Regions from separate parts of the Homo sapiens genome. Here all the other regions are linked to region 1. The links are contacts of gene promoters, found by promoter capture Hi-C in blood cells and fetal thymus (Javierre and others, 2016). All regions are on one chromosome and are shown on one strand. Each heading gives the region's core, a stretch centred on a gene start or on the middle of the fragment in contact. The rest is flanking DNA. Distances are from core to core; before and after follow the strand shown.

What was found. Contacts are between HindIII fragments. The CHiCAGO score rates a contact against its expected background, and 5 or more counts as called.
Region 2: the fragment with the promoter of STOM here is called in contact with the fragment with the promoter of PHF19 in region 1 in 4 of 17 cell types (total B cells, naive B cells, erythroblasts and 1 more); the score reaches 6.5 in total B cells.
Region 3: a fragment that was not itself captured here is called in contact with the fragment with the promoter of PHF19 in region 1 in 1 of 17 cell types (total CD4 T cells); the score reaches 6.3 in total CD4 T cells.

The regions. Positions count from the first base shown.
Region 1 is chr9:120,875,518-120,879,391 of GRCh38, forward strand. It overlaps PHF19 (PHD finger protein 19), which reads right to left and starts at 1,671. Exons shown (of 15, transcript NM_015651.3): 1 at 1,574-1,671. RefSeq lists enhancers at 508-1,099, 2,111-2,160, 2,421-2,470 and silencers at 691-1,140, 1,421-1,470, 1,711-1,990. The HindIII fragment of the contact is 7,264 bases long and covers 1,172-3,874 here.
Region 2 is chr9:121,368,142-121,372,015 of GRCh38, forward strand. STOM (stomatin) reads right to left here and starts at 2,109. Exons shown (of 7, transcript NM_004099.6): 1 at 1,986-2,109. The coding sequence starts at 2,046. LOC102723324 (a long non-coding RNA gene) reads left to right here and starts at 1,752. Exons shown (of 7, transcript NR_187160.1): 1 at 1,752-1,825. RefSeq lists enhancers at 2,114-3,074, 2,534-2,623. The HindIII fragment of the contact is 8,041 bases long and covers 1-3,874 here.
Region 3 is chr9:121,196,753-121,200,626 of GRCh38, forward strand. The region is part of intron 1 of RAB14 (RAB14, member RAS oncogene family); the gene reads right to left. Among named protein-coding and RNA genes, the nearest start is that of RAB14, 3.2 kb to the right of the region's middle. The HindIII fragment of the contact is 1,566 bases long and covers 1,029-2,594 here.

The sequences.
Region 1 (3,874 bases), core at 421-2,920:
AAGCAATTAGTTGCCACAGCCGGCCCATTTTAAGTGCCATGATTTCTGGCTTTCCAGCTCTAGCTTCCATCCTCCTGCCCTGGTCTCAGTTCAGGCCTCATCTTTTGCTTGGGCCATTCATTCATTCATTCATTCACCCAATAACAGTTTCCTGGGCCTTGTGCTTACCTCCACTAGGCACCTAGGGTGGGGAACGGTACTACCAGCACCCAGTGCTAAACAGGCCGTTCCTGCATTCCTGCCTCTCCACCAGACTCTTCCGCAGGGCCACCAATTTCCTTCCAGAAACTTTCTGGGGCTCCCCACTGCCCTCACTGGTGCTCAAAGCCGTCCCTAACGCCCCCTCCTTTCTGCTGGGCTCACCTGGCTCCAAGTCCCTCCACATGCTCTCCACTACAGCCACACACAGCCTCTCTCTTTCCCCGCGGGCCTACTCGGGTCTCCTCCTTGTGGCCATGGCGCTGGGCACCTGGTGTTGTGACTATCTGTTCACAGGGAGAGAGTCCAGTGCCTGTTTCTGTGTGGTGCGTGTGTGTACTCCTGTGAGACTGGGCAGGATGATGTCTACGGCATTGTGCCAGGGAGTGTGTGAAGCTAAGTATGTGCGGGGCCCTGGGGCGAGCCAGGCACTGCAGGGGTCTCGGCTCCCCAGATGGTGGCGTGGCCACGACCTTCTCCACCCCCACTCCCATCTCCTTTTTCTCCAGCGCAGAGCGCACAGGCTCCCGGGCAGGGGATGCGGTCTGAATCCCTGTCCTCTCCCTGCCACCTGGCTCGCCCGGCGCTGCGAGGTCCCCGCCCGCCCGGCCAGGGGCCAGGCCGGGGCCGCTGCAGGTTCACAAACTGACACTTCCTCTCCCGCTGCGCCTCTAGGAGCCGGCCGGGTCGCCGCACCCGCCTCCACCCTGGCCGGGCGGGGGCCCCCGGGTGGCGCCCCCCCAGCCCCCGCCTCCGTCCTCCCGGAGCGGGCCCCCGCGGGCTGTGATTGGCTGATTCAAACCCATTTGCAAAGAAATGCCTGTTTGCGGGTTCCCGTCTGCGTCCAGTTCAAATCCGCGGCACCGGGAGCGCGGGGCCGGGCGGGGGCAGGAAGCGAGGATGATTCATGCGCCGGGGCCTCTCCCAGGGCGGCCGTTGGCTTTTTAAAAAGGATGTTCAGGAGGGGGGAAAAAGCTTGCAGAAGCACCCCCTTCGGGTTCAGCGCTCCTCTCCTCAGTCGCTCGGACGCCAAGCCTCCCCCATCCCAACCCTGCCGCAGCCTGACTTCGGACGTGAGCGAAATGCCAAACGCCCGTCTGTCCTTCCCCCACCCCGATAGGAAAATTAAAGATCGGGGGCGAGGAAGAACGACCTGTCACCCATGCCCCCCGGGGCTCGGGAACCCGGGTGGGGCCCCTCTGCCCCGCAGGTAACCTGCACCCCCGGTCCCCACCCCCGAGAGCCCCGCTCCGCAGGAGTCTCACCCCCCGGAGGCGTTCGGGCCGCCAAAGTTCAGGGAGATTTCGAAAAGAGAGGGATGAGGGCCGGGAGGGGAGAGCGTGGCGGGGAGTCCGCCCAACAGCGCAGAACTCACCGCGAGGCTGCGTGTCCGCCGGTCCCACTTGGAGTCTGGCCACCAGGCGCATCGGTGGCGGAGGCGGCTGCGCTCGGCCCGCGGCTGCCCGGCCGAGTGTCCGCCCGTGGGGCCGGGGTCGGGGTCTCGGCGGGGGCGGGGCGGGGCGGGGGCGCCGCGGGGAGGAGGGGGAGGCGGCGGAGGGAGGGGCCGGGGCGCTCAGGAAGGGGCCCCCCGGGCGCGGGGCGCCATCTTTTTCGCGTTTTCCCGCGAATTATTGACGTCCCGCTTATGTAATTAGCGGGGGCCGCGCCGGCCTCGCCATTGGAGCCCGCGGCCGCCGGGCTCCGCAGCGCCGCCAGCCCCCGCCCGCCCCCGCCCGCCCCGCGGGCGCGCATCCTCCGCGGCCACTAGCCAGGACCCGGGCCCCCCGCCGAGGAGCGGCCACACCGCGGCGCACACGGAGACGCCAGGCAGCGCTCATGGCGCACACGACCGCTCGCACACTTGTTGAGGAAACACAGCTCTGCGCGCAGGCACCGGCGGACCCTGGCACAGACACACAGCAGGGCGGCGCGGACCCTTGGCGCAGACACAGACCCAGGACGCCCAAACAGGCCACACAACACCTTGCACTAACAGCACAGGCGTTCGGCACAGAGACACAGCACAAGTATAATGTAGATACACAACACACAGTGCACAACGCATGTTGTTCCGACACAGGTCAGAACACACCACAGCATGTACAGGACACAAACACACCACAAAGAGAAGTACTGTACACACCAGCCATAGGCATAGATACACAAGGGGGAACACACTGTACACAACAGAGACACACAACAGAACATGCATGTAAGGTAGACGGACATAACACATAAAGTCACAACACAGACGGGCAAGAGACACAAGTTTTCCTGAAAAAGTGGCATTCAGATAGGTTGTGGAAATAGGTTAGTGGGTGTGCCAGGTGGAGGGAATTCAGTGGGCTAACAATGCAATTTTTAAAATACGGGTTAAGGATATCAAAAGGCAATTCACAAAAGAGGAAACCTACATGGCCGAAATAGCCCCAAACAACAAATTGCGTAGAGACACAGTGCACAGAAATACATGGTACAATCGCAAATATATACCACACGCACAACATGTCATGTAAATAAAGGGCACACAATGAAAGACAACATGCACAGAGTCATAGGAATGGCAGATGGAGTCAGTGGGCAGAGCTCCAATCATAGGGACCCTGCCCTGTGGGGGAAAGGCAGACATGGCCCCACCCAGACTCACTCTTGGGGGAAGGGAGGAAGAACACTTACCAATAACCCCACCCCCATCCTTGCCCTCAGTCCACAGCGCCCACCTCTGTGGCTACCATCCCACTCTGCAGACACCCCCACCAGACAGGGATATGTGCTTTCATGGGTGTGGCCAGTGGACAGCACCTTCCCCCAGAGCCTTCCCTGTTCACTGTCAGTTGCTCACTCTGGGCCCTCTGCCTCCTGGCCTTGGAGCATGATCTGTGCAGCCCCCCACCTCACCTTCTCAGCAGAGATCCAGGAGTCCTTTCACCTCCTTCCTCACTTCCTTCTGCCCCTTGATCCCCCTGCTCTCACCTGCCTCACTGCCCCATTCTGGATCCTGGCGCCTCAGCAGAACCTAGCACTGCTGAGTACCTGCCTGAACCTGGAAGGAAAGCCTGGGAGCAGCCCCATGGCACAAAATCTCCCAATCCTGGAGAGCACATTTTCAAGTCCCAAAGGGGCCCTAGGATTGTGCTACTTAACCATGTTCTGCCAAGAGAAGGTGTGTCCAACGCGGGTAGGGCTGATGATGGGAGCAGAACACTCCCACTAGCTTCTAAGCTGGCTGGGTCTGCCTTCAGGATGCTGGGGGACAGAGATGATAGAGCGAAGTGCTCACCTCTGAGGCTACAGGCCAGCTCCACCCATTACTGGCCATGGGAGCCTGAGTGTGTCACTTCTTTCTTTCTTTTTTTTTTAAACAATTCTTGCTCCAGAGACTTTAAGTCTTAAGCCTCCGTGTCCTCACCTAAATAGAGTTATTGGGAAGGTTAGAGTTAATGTATGCAAAGCCCCTGGTGCCCAGTAGGTGTGCAGTAAGTGATCATTGTATTAATACTTTGTTAAGAAATTCTGTATTCAGAATCTTGATTGCCCCACTGTGTGGGACTAGAGCGGGGGGATGTGAGACACACAGGTGGATGGGAGACACACAGGTGGATGAGAGACAAGGAACTGGCAACCTCGTGGAGGAGGCGGTGTTGATGCATAGATAAATAAGAGGGGATTGTGCTGT
Region 2 (3,874 bases), core at 859-3,358, 490 kb after region 1:
ACATTAAAAAAACACAGACTATGCAAAATTTTATTTGTATGTCTAATTTTTGAGAGGAAGTGGTGGTTTTCATTAGATCTTGAAAGATTTCTGTCTAAACAGTAGTTAAGTGTAGAACCAAGGAAAAAAACTGGAAGTTAAAAACTCATCTATGACCACTTGTCTGTAAATAAACATTAAGTACAAAGATCATGTTGATTCTCAAAGAACTCCAAGCAGATTTGCCACTGCAGTTTCCCACCAGGAGGTCAGGGTATTGAGGAATGCATGCTAATACCCACCTTTTTATCTAGGAAAAGACAACTAACTATCGAAGAGGCAGTTACCACCCATTTTTTCCCTATTCAAGTTTTAGAATCAGTCAAATCTAGATTTAAATACAAACTAAGTGACTTTAAGTAATTTAACTTCTTTGACTATCAGTTTCATCAAGTATAATATGGGGATAAGAATACCTACCACATCATCTGTTGTGAAGATTCAATAAAATAATATATACATAAAATACGTGGCACTGGGGGGGTCGCGGTGGCTCATGCCTGTAATCCCAGCACTTTGGGAGGCCGAGGCGTGTGGATCACTTGAGGTCAGGAGTTTGAGACCAGCCTGACCAACATGGTGAAACCCTGTATCTACAAAAAATACAAAATCAGCTGGGCATGGTGGTGCACGCCTGTAATCCCAGCTACTTGGGAGGATGAGGCAGGAGAATCACTTGAACTCGGGAGGCGGAGGTTGCAGTGAGCGGAGATCACACTCCAGCCTGGGCAAGAAAAGCGAAACTCCGTCTCAAAAAAAAAAAAAAAAGTGATACGGAGCCTGACCTATTTAGTTTCAATTTTTGTTGTTGTGGTTGCCATTATTCTCATCAACTCCTCCCTGTTACACTCTCCATTTGGGAAGATAACCTGCAACGTTATTAGTAGACAAAAAGTGAGGAATAAAGATTTCTGTAATTCCTTTGATGCTCCTGGGAAGGAACTGAACACAGGGATCCCTGGACAAGGGAAATGGAACTTATAGCTAAGATGCTGTGGATAAAGCTGGCTTTACAAATAATCAGAATAGATGACTCCAATGTCATGTTCTTTGAGGGGTCCTGGAAAGGACCACCCAGCCCTCTAAATTGCTTTCACTGCCATCCTGCCTGAAATTCCATCTTTAGAAACACTGTAATTCCTCTGGATCACTAAGAGCTCCTGAGTGGGTACCAGGACTCCTGAGAGGTCCACCATCTCTCTTTATTGGAACCCCCTCCCCAGAGTACCAGTTCCTCCACAGGGGAACGAGACTGAGCCACTTACAGCTCCTGCCTTGAAGACTGGGAAGGGAGGGTGGGGGTGAGGGTGGGAGAACTCAGGGTTCCTGGCGAGGAACAAAAGCCGGGAAGGAGAGTTCTCCAAAACGCAGAGGAAAGCGGAGGGGGAAAAATGGGGCAGAAAGTGGAGCTAGAAAGAGAGGTAAGAAGAAAGCCAGAGAGACTTCTTCCTTCTGCAAATCGGTCTAAGTTTCGGGAGGTGGGATTGGGGGAGGAGGGGGTTCACCCTGGGGCCAGGCCAGGGCTGGGTGGAGGAGGCGGCCTTCGAGAGAGTGAGTCGGGAAAGAAGGGGAGTGGGCAAAGGGTGAGATGTGGGGTCCCGGTCCCCGCCTCGCTGGCTGCCAGTTCCCTCTGCGTTTCCTAGTCCGCGTGCGTGACACGAGATAGTGCAGCCCTGGCATGGGGCTTGGCATCTGGCGGCCGCGAGATAACCAGGGCCCGTGCGATGGGAAACGTGCCGTTGGCAGCCCGCCACCCCTCCATCGTGACCTCAGTCTGCCAAACAGGGTTCGTGATGCTCAGTTTACTAGGGAGGAGCCGCGGCTTTGAGATCTCGCCCAGCCCGAAGCAGCGGAGACTGGCCAGGAGCCCGGCTGTCAGACCTCGGAGCGCACGCTGCGGGCGGGGGCTCGGTCCACGGGGGAGGGTCAGGGGACGCGGGACTCACCCTTGAAGGAGTCGGGGAGCCGCTGGGCTTCGGAGTCCCGTGTGTGCCGCTTCTCGGCCATGCTGCCCGAGACGCAGTCGCACTCCCCCGTCCTCGTTGCCAAACCCGGAGCCGCCGGGAATGCCCTGAGGAGCCAGAGGCACAAGACCCAGATTGCCGCCCCGCCCCCAATCGAGGTCCCGCCCTCGTGAGAGTTGGCCAATCAACGCCCAGGATCGAGGAGGACCCACCTCCCAATCCCCGCCCTCCTGTCCCTCCACGGCGCGACTGCTTCGCAGTCACTTCCCGCTAGTTCTGTGGGCTGAGGGGCGTGGCCTGAGGGGCGTGGCCTGAGGGGCGAGAGCCCCCAAGGCTGTGGGTATGAGGCCGGGGCCCTGCACCGGAAGGGAGGGCGGAAGCCACGGGACGTGGAGCAGATGGTGAGGATAGTGGGGAGGTAGCAGCAGAGGATGACCCGAGGCAAAAGTGCAAGTGAAGAAAAGTCGCCTTGCCGGGCAGAGGTACGGGACCAAGGCGCCTCCTCTGGGCTGAGGAGTTAGAGGGAAGAAAATGGCGCCCTGTCATGAGGGCGCGAGGTCCGAGTTGAGGGGAGAAGACTGAGGGACACAGAAGTGGCCGAAGTGAGGGCGCTGAGGTCAGCCTGAGCTGAGAGGGCCGGCAGATCACGCCGCAGCCGAAGTGAACGAACTCGAGTGAGGTGTGTTAAGAAAATCAAAATGTATAAATTTGGAAAAGGAGAGGAGGCCGGGCGCGGTGGCTCACGCCTGTAATCCCAGCACGTTGGAAGGCCGAGGCGGGTAGATCATCTGAGGTTAGAAGTTCGAGACCAGCTTGGCCAACATGGTGAAACCCCGTCTCTGCTAAAAATACAAAAATTAGCCGGGCGTGTGGCGCGCGCCTGTAATCCCAGCTACTTGGGAGGCTGAGGCAGGAGAATCGCTTGAACTTGGGAGGCAGAGGTTGCAGTGAGCCGAGATGGCCTGGGTGACAGAGCGAGACTCCGTCTCAAAAAAACAAAACAAAAAACAAAAAAACAGGAGAGGAGACTTTATTTCTTGTAAGGGGTTACAGCCTGCAAGGTGGCCATTCCGCAGGCTGGAGAATGGCCAGGACCAGAGACAGGCATTTCGTTGGAGGAGGGGTTGGAGTAGCGGCTTTATGCTGAACAGCTTGGGTAGACATGCATATTCAGCAGGTGACAGGAGGAGCTATGAATATTCATGAGGGTGGTCCTGACGCATGCCCATTGAGCAAACATGCATGTAACATACAACCCATGTTCATTTTGGAGTGAAGAGTTACCAATTAAATGTTAAATGCCTGGCCTGCATGGTGACGTCCCCATCTCTACAAAAAGTAAAAAAAAAATAGCCAGGTGGGGTGGTGTGTGCTTGCGGTCCCAACTAGTCAGGAGGCTGGGGCAGGAGGATCACTTGAGCCCAAGAGTTGGAGGCTGCAGTGATGTATGATCAGATCACTGCACTCCAGCCTGATGGACTCTAAAAAATAATAACAATACATGTATTACAGTTAGACCCCATGCGTCAAAAGGTCTTTTCAGGACAGGAAGGTGTGCAAGTATGCAGTCTGTGTAAACTAGCCAGAGCCAGTCCATGGTCGGTAGTTTTCCTATGAGGAGAAAGTTACTGAAATCAGCCTCTTGTCCAATTAAAGCTGTAATGATGGCTGGTGGAATAGGGGTTCCATTAGGCCACATCTGGTGGAGCTGCAAATTGTTTTAATATTGCTTATCTCGAGGCCAGTGCTTGTTAAGCTGCTAGAGAAAGAGAACAACCTTGTGGCAGTTAGAACACAGTTTATTCTCTAAGTGAAGGGATGTGTGCCTTAACCTTTGCCTGGCATGACCTTAGGTATAATTTGTTTATAAT
Region 3 (3,874 bases), core at 562-3,061, 320 kb after region 1:
TGCACTGCAGTCAGAATTTATAGATATAAATGACTGGTAATACTAGTAATACTAACTTATAATACTATAATTCATTTACTTAGAAAAAGTTTCTTGAGAACACTTGAGAGTAAACCATGTAATGATCTATACTACTTTTTATAATTCTTACTTAATTCTCACAACTCTGCAGAGTCATTATCATTATGTCCATGCAAAAAATTAAAGAAACTGAGGTTTGGAGAAATTCACTCATTTGGCCAATGTTATAAAGTTTGTAAATGGTAGACCTAGAACTTGAACCCAGGCCTGATTCCAAAGACCATGATTTTCTCTAAGGTATTATTAGCTTATTTCAGGTATGTACAGGTAGACTGATAAAATAAAAATCAGAGAAAGAGGAAGGATATTAGTGCATGTAAAATTTAGCTATAAACTACCCTTGCTGCCAAGAGAAATATTTACTAAATGCATAGTAAACACTAACAACTGTGCCATGTATTCAACTGACTCCTTAAAAATATTAATATGCTTAATATTGCTTTAATAAAGGATTTCTCAACCTCATCTCCTGAACATGAAACATACCAGTTTTCACCACTGGGGAAACATACCATTTCACCACTGTGAAAATATACCATTTTTCACCACCATTTTCACCACTGTTAAGGTGAAAAATGTATTTTAAAATGGGGTACGCCATCTTGTAAAATTCTGCATATTTCTTTTACTCAACAAAATGATAGACACATTTTCATGTCAGTACATTTAGATCTAAGTGGTTACTGAACAAATATTAAACACTAATTATTGTTGTGACAAAAATAGAATGCATGGTTTCTATTTACTGAATCAGACACCTTTCTAAGATTACACAGACATATAAACGACTAGTTTTGAAACATGTAGGTACAGATGTGAAGGTATACACTTTCATACATACTGCTTGTGGAAATGTGCCAACATTTTGGAAAGTAATCAGTATGTTTAAAAATCTTAACAATAATCCAAATCATCCTTTGGCCCAGAAAGTATCCTACATATACAAAAGCTTCAGCCCATAAGGCTACAGGTATTAGTGCATTTAATGCACCATTTTTACAGCAAAAAACTGGAAATAATCAGCAAAGAAATGACTGAATAAAGTACATCTATAATACAAAATAATATCCATGTAGTTTAGAAACCATTTTGATTGATATGCATTAACCTGGAAATACATCCATGATTTTGTTAAGTGAAAAAACACATGTTGCAGAGTTTTATGCAACAGCATACCCCACTTTCAAACACACACACACACACACACACACTCAACCCTATATTCATATAATATGGAATACACACCAAATTGTGAAAAATACATGGACAGGAGAAACAGGGAATAGAGAAATTATTAACTTTTCTTTATATATCCCTGCACTGACTTACTATAATGAATTAAAAATAAAATTTTCTCTACCGATAAATATTTCAAAAGCCCTTTTCTATTTTAATACAGGTTAAAGAATACCCAAACAAAAACAAACAAATCTCCCACTCATAATATTCCCAACATTATTTCCGCATTTACTGATAATAAGAGGAATATCTTATGAAGCCAATAATACGATTGGGTTCAAAATAGAAAAACCAACACTCAATAGTAGAGGGCATATTTTTGGGAGTTTTTTAATAGCTTAACTACTTACTGTTTGCTCTGATTTTAAAAACTGTTATACAGCTATTCTACTCCTTAGAACCTATGATGTTACTGTATAATTTTTACATAGCTGATCCAAGACATAACAAGGGAAAAGCAACCCATTAAATATTCCAGGTAATTTAATTCTTATCCTTGTTATTTCCACTGATAAGTTTTTTGTTTGTTTTTTAACATGCACGACGTTTTGTTAAAAATACCAGAGCTGAGATGGACTGCTTCTGTAGTTCCAACATAAACATATCTGTTAAGTATCTACTAAGCACAAAGCATTGTGCCAGGCTTTAGCAAGACAGCAATGATCAAAAAAGACAACACTGTCTCTGCCTTCGTGGAACTCAACAACAGAAGCATGCTGACTTGCTTTAGAGGCCCACTAAAATGGACCACTACTACCTGATTTGTCAGTCAGGCGGATAAAACTTCTGTAGTTAATCTAATAATCTAATCTAATAAAAATGAGTGGTCAATTTCCTCAACAGTAGTACAAGTAGCCCACCCACTTAAAAAAAAAACCTTACTTTTGACAATATACTTAATGTCACTTTTATATAAATAATGTGAATCATTTTTAAAAGCTGGATTGCTTAATGTGGCAAAAGTAACTTTGATGGTCTTCTATATACAGGAAATAAAGTATTCTAATACTGGACCTCTGTTTACAGAAAGAAAGCACTTAACAACCAAAAAGCCAAAAAAAACCCCTGCACTTACTGCTCAAGTTAAAAGGATTAATAGTGAAAATTTTACTACCGATATTGTGTCTGAGATTTGCTTCAAAATAATTTGGCAAGGAGGAGGCAAGTGTATATTGATGAAGCAAGACTGATCACTGTTGACACTGGCTGATAGGTATATGAATGCTCAGTATGCTACCTGATTTTGTATATATTTAAAATTGTCTAGAATAAGAAGCTTTTTAAAAGTCAAGTACAGTACCTCTAATACTTCTATTTGTCAAACTGTTGTCTTTAGCCATGCCTGGCATTTTTTACCACATAAAAATGTTTCAAGCCTCTTTTAAAAAACATGAAACATCTCTCAATAGCCCAAGTTTTCACATTTTATTTACCTTAATCAAGTTTCCTCCACTAGCACAATATCTTACTGTGACTATGCAAAGATATTTGATATTGATAAAAATGAACACTCCAAATTCTGTTGCAAAGTTGAAGTATGCAACAATGATAAAGTTTAACTGTAATACAAAAAAAGCAACAACTTTTTAAGATGTAGCTTTAATTTCAAGGGATTTTTTAATAGCTATTATAATCTAAGGTTTTACGTCTTTACAATAACTGCCATTTATTGAGGGCCTAACACATGCCAGCTACTTTATAAACAGTCTCTAATCCTAAAAACTCATTTTTCAGATAAGGAAACCGAAGTGATCTACCCGTGGTCATACTACTACTAAATGGAGAGCTAGAATTAAGGCCCAGGTTTAACTCTACATGTAGCTCTCCAAAGCTATACTCCTCTCTCATTCATTCAAAAGATATTAAACACCCACTATGTGCCTGGCACTGTTACAGGCACTGATTTACTATATGCCAAGCAATGTGCTAAGGGCTTTCTTTAAACCCCATTTAATCCTAGCAACAACTCTAAGATGCAGGTCCAATTATCCCCTTTATAGATAAGGACACTGAGTCCGAAAGGTTAAGTAACTTGCTTAAGATCACTTAACTAGGAAGTGGCAGTACTGGAGGGAGAACCCTTGACAGTATGACTCCAAAACTCTTAACCACGACATACCTCTAGGCATGATCAAATAAAACTGCCTAAACAGAACTTGGAAGAAAAAATTTGGAAAGGCTTGGGGGAATAAAGGGGTAGGAGCTGGATTACTGCAAGGTCAAGTTTGTCTTCAACAATCAAATCTAAATAAAAGGCAGTTGTTCCTCTACAATATTTACCTTAGAAAAATAAAAGAATTTTTTAAAGGCAGTTGGGATAGTAACGAAATGAGCAGTAAACTTTGCAAGAGTTCAAATCTGGGCTCTGACACTTGCTGTGGGGTCACCAGGAAGGCACCTGTCCTCTTGGAACCCGTTTCTTCTTCATATATGAAACTGAAATCCTGGCATCTCTCCTTTGGGGTTTGTAAGCATGAGGATTTGCCAGTGTAGTGGTTGACTTTATGGACTTTAGGTCATAAAAGGGTAATCAGCTGTCATCCAATGCGAACAC